Linked DNA regions of Homo sapiens: region 1 is linked to region 2. The links are contacts of gene promoters, found by promoter capture Hi-C in blood cells and fetal thymus (Javierre and others, 2016). All regions are on one chromosome and are shown on one strand. Each heading gives the region's core, a stretch centred on a gene start or on the middle of the fragment in contact. The rest is flanking DNA. Distances are from core to core; before and after follow the strand shown. Region 1 overlaps PEX2 (peroxisomal biogenesis factor 2). Region 2 holds the start of UBE2W (ubiquitin conjugating enzyme E2 W).

Evidence for each region. Contacts are between HindIII fragments. The CHiCAGO score rates a contact against its expected background, and 5 or more counts as called.
Region 1: a contact is called between a fragment that was not itself captured here and the fragment with the promoter of UBE2W in region 2, in 1 of 17 cell types (naive CD8 T cells). The highest score is 5.3, in naive CD8 T cells.

The regions. Positions count from the first base shown.
Region 1 is chr8:76,990,685-76,993,384 of GRCh38, reverse strand. The region is part of intron 1 of PEX2 (peroxisomal biogenesis factor 2); the gene reads left to right. Among named protein-coding and RNA genes, the nearest start is that of PEX2, 8.0 kb to the left of the region's middle. The HindIII fragment of the contact is 3,106 bases long and covers 1-2,700 here.
Region 2 is chr8:73,877,424-73,880,123 of GRCh38, reverse strand. It overlaps UBE2W (ubiquitin conjugating enzyme E2 W), which reads left to right and starts at 1,262. Exons shown (of 6, transcript NM_018299.6): 1 at 1,262-1,316. The coding sequence starts at 1,302. It overlaps LINC01617 (long intergenic non-protein coding RNA 1617), which reads right to left and starts at 1,142. Exons shown (of 3, transcript NR_147034.1): 1 at 1-1,142. RefSeq lists silencers at 1,030-1,319, 1,460-1,509, 1,530-1,789 and enhancers at 1,176-2,053, 2,530-2,579. The HindIII fragment of the contact is 3,471 bases long and covers 263-2,700 here.

The DNA of each region.
Region 1 (2,700 bases), core at 109-2,608, 3.1 Mb before region 2:
TTTTCAGGGAAGTTGTTAGCATCATAGGTAGGCCCCTGAATTGTTGCAGGAATCCTATAAATCTGGTCTCCCAGAACGGCAGTTTTTCTTTTCTTCAGTTTTATTGAACTCTGCCGTCAGATTAATCTTTTGAAATTTATATCCCATTATGTCTCTTCTCTTCAATGATTATTCATGCCTACAGAATCAATACAATTTCCTTAACACAGGTTCTTTTTACAATGTGGCTAGGTTGACACTTCAGCCAGTCTCTCCTGCCAGCCTGCTTTGGTCATGACAGATGACTTGTCTCCTTCCAGATAACAGATGCAGCCACATTGACGGGGGTTAAATAACCAAGGATGTAGCTCATGGTGCAACTCATGTCCGTATGTCCCAGCTAGGCTATGGTCAGGAGCTTGCTATTTCTGGGCTTTCACACAGCCTGTTCCCTTGCCTTACATACCATTTTCCTCTTTTCTCCCTGGAAAGTTTTGTGATCTTTTATAATGTTTTCACGTTTTGGGATCCATTCTTCACTTCAGAGATCAATGGCCAGTCCTGATTTCCTATGTCTTTTAAAATGCTTGAATAAAAGGAAGCTAGCTGACAGTTAAATATTTAGATTGAATCTCTAGTACCTAGGAGAATGCCTTGTATTTGATAGGTGTCCAGTATATATTTGTTACATTGAGTAACCATTTGTCAGAGAATTAGAATTCACTAAAACACAAACTGCTTACACTATATTGGGAATAATTTTATGTGATATAAAGTCGTTTATGGCATTTATGCTTCATACCTATTATAACAAATCTTGTTGTACTGCTGTAGAGGGAAGAAGATTCCATAATTGGGTTAATTGAATTTCTAGTTATTTTGATTTCATCATTTTCTTCTACTCCTTTGCTGCCCTTTTCTAAAGAGAGTATTCTAGAATAGCTGTACCTGCCAGAAAGAGAGGAGTGGGGTGGGAGTATGTGTGATGAGGAAGAACTGAATGTAATATGCTGGTGATGAATACAAGTTTGTTGCTTGTCTTGGACTGCCTGTACCATGTTGTGTGCAGCAAAGCACCCTAGAGTCAAATATTGTAAGTGTGCATTCATGAGGTTTCTTTACTTCAAGATAACAGGCACAACTATGTTGATAGGGGCTAAATAATGACAGGAGCAGGTCATGCGGGAACCCATCTCTTTTCTCTATCCACACTGTGTCATATCCTTTCAGACAAGGTGCAAGTTAAGTGGGCAGTGAGTTCCACTGAACCATCATATCTCTGCCCACTCCTGCCTGGCCCCTCCCACGTGCACACATAAGGGTGACATTATGTTTGTGGTTTAACTGCCACAATTTATGTCTTAATGATGTCAATATTTCCTGGAAAAACATTTTGATACAGGTTGATTGAGGCATTACTATAACTAACAGTGAAGGTTTCAGTCTTTCGAAATGAGATTTGCCAAAATTAGTTTGGGGCCTGTTACTTTTCATGCTCATCCCTAGCCAAAGCAACAATAATGTAATAAATAATACTGCTTTATGGCTTCTAAACCACTTTCGTAACATTATCTGGTTTAATCTCAACAACTTTGTGAGGTAGCTGTTATTTCCAACTTTTAGGAGAAGAATCCGAGGCTAATGAAGTTTTTTAAGATCTCATAGCAAGTAAGTGACAGAGCTAGAACTTGAGCCCAGGCCTGTTTGATTTTAAATCTGCTTTTTCCACTCTGTGACAGATGCCTAAAGAAGAATGTAGAGCATGGGAGAAGTATTCCACTTTAATGAACTATGGTGTGTAATAGACAGTGTCTGTTCTATGTTTACAACTAAAAGAAGTCACAAAAATGACTAAAATGTTGGAAAATAAAACCTAAAACAAAAAATAGAGAGAAATTATTCATCTGGAGGAGCAAAGGCTGAAGAACAGTTTAATAATAGTCTTTTGGTCTATTAAAGAGTCTTACGTAGGGAGGAGAGCAAACCCAGCTGTTCCTAATCTACACTGAGGCCAGGCCTGGGGAGGAAAAGAAGAAAGAAAAAAATGTTAAACTGTAACAGAAGGGATAAGAAAGAATTTTTTGATAATAAATATTGTTAAATATTGTATTGGTTAAAGACCGTTTTAGGTCTCCTTTTCTGGCAGTCATTAAAAATTCCTGTTTTTACTGAATGTTTTTAAGTGTAATTCCTCCAAAAACAAGAAACTTGAAATAGATGATTCTTCTGACAAACCACTCACTCTGACCAGTTTCTCACTAAATATCACTAAGGAACCTGAGGAAGAGATGCAGTTATGAGTTGCTTATCAAGGGGGTACATTCTGAGAAACGCATAGTTTGATGATTTCATCATTGTGCGAACATCATAGGGTGTACTCACACAAACCTACTTGGTATAGCCTAGTTCACACCTCGTTATATTTTACTGTGCTTTCTTCTGGTTTGCAGATACTGCTTTTACAAATTAAAGGTTTGTAGCAAACCGAGTCAATCAAGTTTATCTGCACAATTTTTTTTCCAACAGCATTTACTCAACTTGGTGTCTCTGTGTAACGTTTAGGTAATTCTTGGCAATATTTCAGACTTTTTTTTATTATGATATTCTTAGTGGTGACCTGTGATCAGTGATCTTTGTTATTACTATTGTAACTGTTCTGGGGCACCACGAACTGTATCCATATAAGATGGTGAACTTATAAATATTCTGGGGCACCAAGAA
Region 2 (2,700 bases), core at 13-2,512:
CCATAGACTAACTGGCGTATTTTAAAGATCTTTTTCCTTTTTGAACACATTTCAGATTAGAGAAGTTCCAGAGAACGTAATCTATTTTAAGAGTGTGAAAGAGTGATATTCCACATTGCTTTTATATCTTAAAGAAATTTCTAAAAAGAAAGCCGAGTCAATAAAATGACAGATTTTAAGCCTTCATTCTGGTAACATAAAAGCCTTCTACTCATTGTGTCTGCCACCTTAATTTTTAAAGATAGAGCATGAGGTGTAAGCTTTTGGCTTCCATTTTCCTCTTATAAACCAATGACATCTTCAGTTCCAGAATAGCTTTTTAAAAACGTGACTTCTGATAAATGTTGGCAGAACTGGTGCATTCCTAAAATAAATTATGTATGCTCAGCTTTCCCTACCCAAGTTCATCCCTAAATGACCACAAAACTGCCCACCACGAACTATGCTTAAGAGAAGTCTGGACATAATGGTATAAGTGTATATAACACGACATTGGTATATTTAAAAAAAAATTCATGCCTAGGGTCAATTCTGATAATCAAATTTAGACTGCTGCAACAACCGTAACTATTGTTGATATATGCGCAGTTTAAAAGTGAAGGGCGGGGGTAAGGGGCAGAAACTGCACACAACAAACTTCCAAATTTTGTCTCCCTTTTCAGGCAAGTTTCAGCTCCACAAATCTAAATACCCTCGCCTTTAAAATATCAGTGTCGTTCTGCTCTTAAATCCTCATCCCGTTGTACAAGGAAACCTATGTCTCTCTTCCCCAAATTAAGAATACGAGAAGCCTTCCAGGTCTGCAAATACCAGAAAGCAGCTGCGCATGAAGTTTTATGGGGCCCCAAGGCTCTGAGAGTGGGCTTGGAGGTATGGAAAACACATCCCAAGGGAAAAATCTGTGAACCGCACAACTGTGGTTGGAAACGAAATAGGAAAAAAACTGCGCGGAACCGGACGTCATCAGCATTTCGCGGTACACACGAAGAAAACAACCGTAGTCGGGTCAAAACTGGAGCCGTGTCTCCTCAGTAACGAGAGTAAATGGGGGCCCGACGCGTGAGCGGCCAGCCGGACTGAGACAGAAAGTACTCAGAGCGCCATTTACCGCGCCCTCGCCCCGCCCCGTAGCCCCTCCTCCCGTCCGCCCTGCGCGCCAGCCAATCCCCTCGCTCCATCCCCTTCCCATCGCAGACCCCGCCCCCGCGCCCGGGATGTTGAGCCCCCGCGGCGTGACGCGAGCACGGCAGCTCCTCCCCCTGCGTCTCTGGCCTCGCCGGTCTTGGGGGGATGGTTCCATCATGGCGTCAATGCAGGTGAGAGGAGTTTGCTGCATCTGGGCGGGCCAGGGAGCCGCCGAGAGAGTGCCAGCGTTCGGGCGGGGGTGGCGTCCGCGATTCGGGGACACCCGGGCGGGTTCGGGATCGGTCCGGGTGGCCTGTTTTCCCTCAGCTCAGGGCGTCGGGGGAGGGGTAAGAGGCGGCGAGAGGCGTTGTGGGGGGTGCGGTATCCGTCGGTCGAAGCGGACACCAGCCGGCCGGGAAGTTGGGTGATAAAGGAGGGTTGGGGAAGAAAGGGCAAAGTCTGGCGTTGGCGGTCTCAGAATCGGCTCCCCGCACACACACACGGGCGCTGCCAGTCTGCTGCCCGCCAGCCCCAGGGTTGCCTTTACCCCCGCTGTCCCTGGCCCGACGGAAACAGCTGCGCCCGCGGTTGTTGCCGGGGCAGGGGCGGCGGGGGGCTGAGTGTGCGGGAGCCGAGAATGCGTCTCCGGAGAAGGCGGCTGGCTGCGGACGGCGCTTAGCGGCCTCTGCTCCGGCCTCCCACGCCGGGCCCCCCAGACTGCTCGGCCCCGTCCCTCTCTTCTTCCCTTTGACTCTTAATCCTGTGCCCGTGGGTATCTTCTATTTCCATCAGCCTCGGTATTCTCGCGGACATTCCTCCAGCAGTCCACTGTCTCCTTCCTCTCGAAGCTGCCCCGTGTCCACCGCCTGATGGGCGATCTCCCGAGAGCCGAGTCCTCAGCCCCCTTAAACCTCTCGGGATAGCTTGCCTTCTATTTTGTTTCCCACTGCAAGGCCCCACCCTTGCGGTCGCGATAAGGCTATACATCTCTTTGCCCTTATTCCCAGACCTTTAGTGGAACCTTAGTTTGGTAGGAGGCGTTTGTTAACCTGTGCCATATCCCCCCGACTTAGCAAGGCGTGGTTTTCTGGCTTTCCAACTTAATTTACTCCTTTTTCCCGAATCTAGGGAGTTGTGGGTTTTTTTGTTTTTTGTTTCCAGGCAAAGATGGCAACCACAATTGTAGTTGTGCAGGGATTGAGTGCGTTATCTGTAGCCTGCATTTAATTCACAGGTGAAGACTAGCGGTATCAAAGGCATTGGAAGAGAAAGTAGAACGCTCAATAGGAGTGTCAGCTGAGTACCCTTTAGCGTTTTCATAATATCCCCTTGGGTAAAGAGACCACATTTTCTTAGAAGTGTTTTTTGCTTTTGTTTCTGGAAGAAGCAAGTCTCTGTTCCTCCTCCATTTTTTTTTCTTTACTCTGCTAAAAGTGTTTTTCTTCCCTTTTCTGCATCTTCTTCCTCTTTTGTACAAATATAGCTTTGCTTCACATTTACTCCTGTGCTTTTATGTTATTCCCCTTTCAACCTGTTTTCCTTACAATATTCTCTTTACCTTGCTTCTCCCTCTGG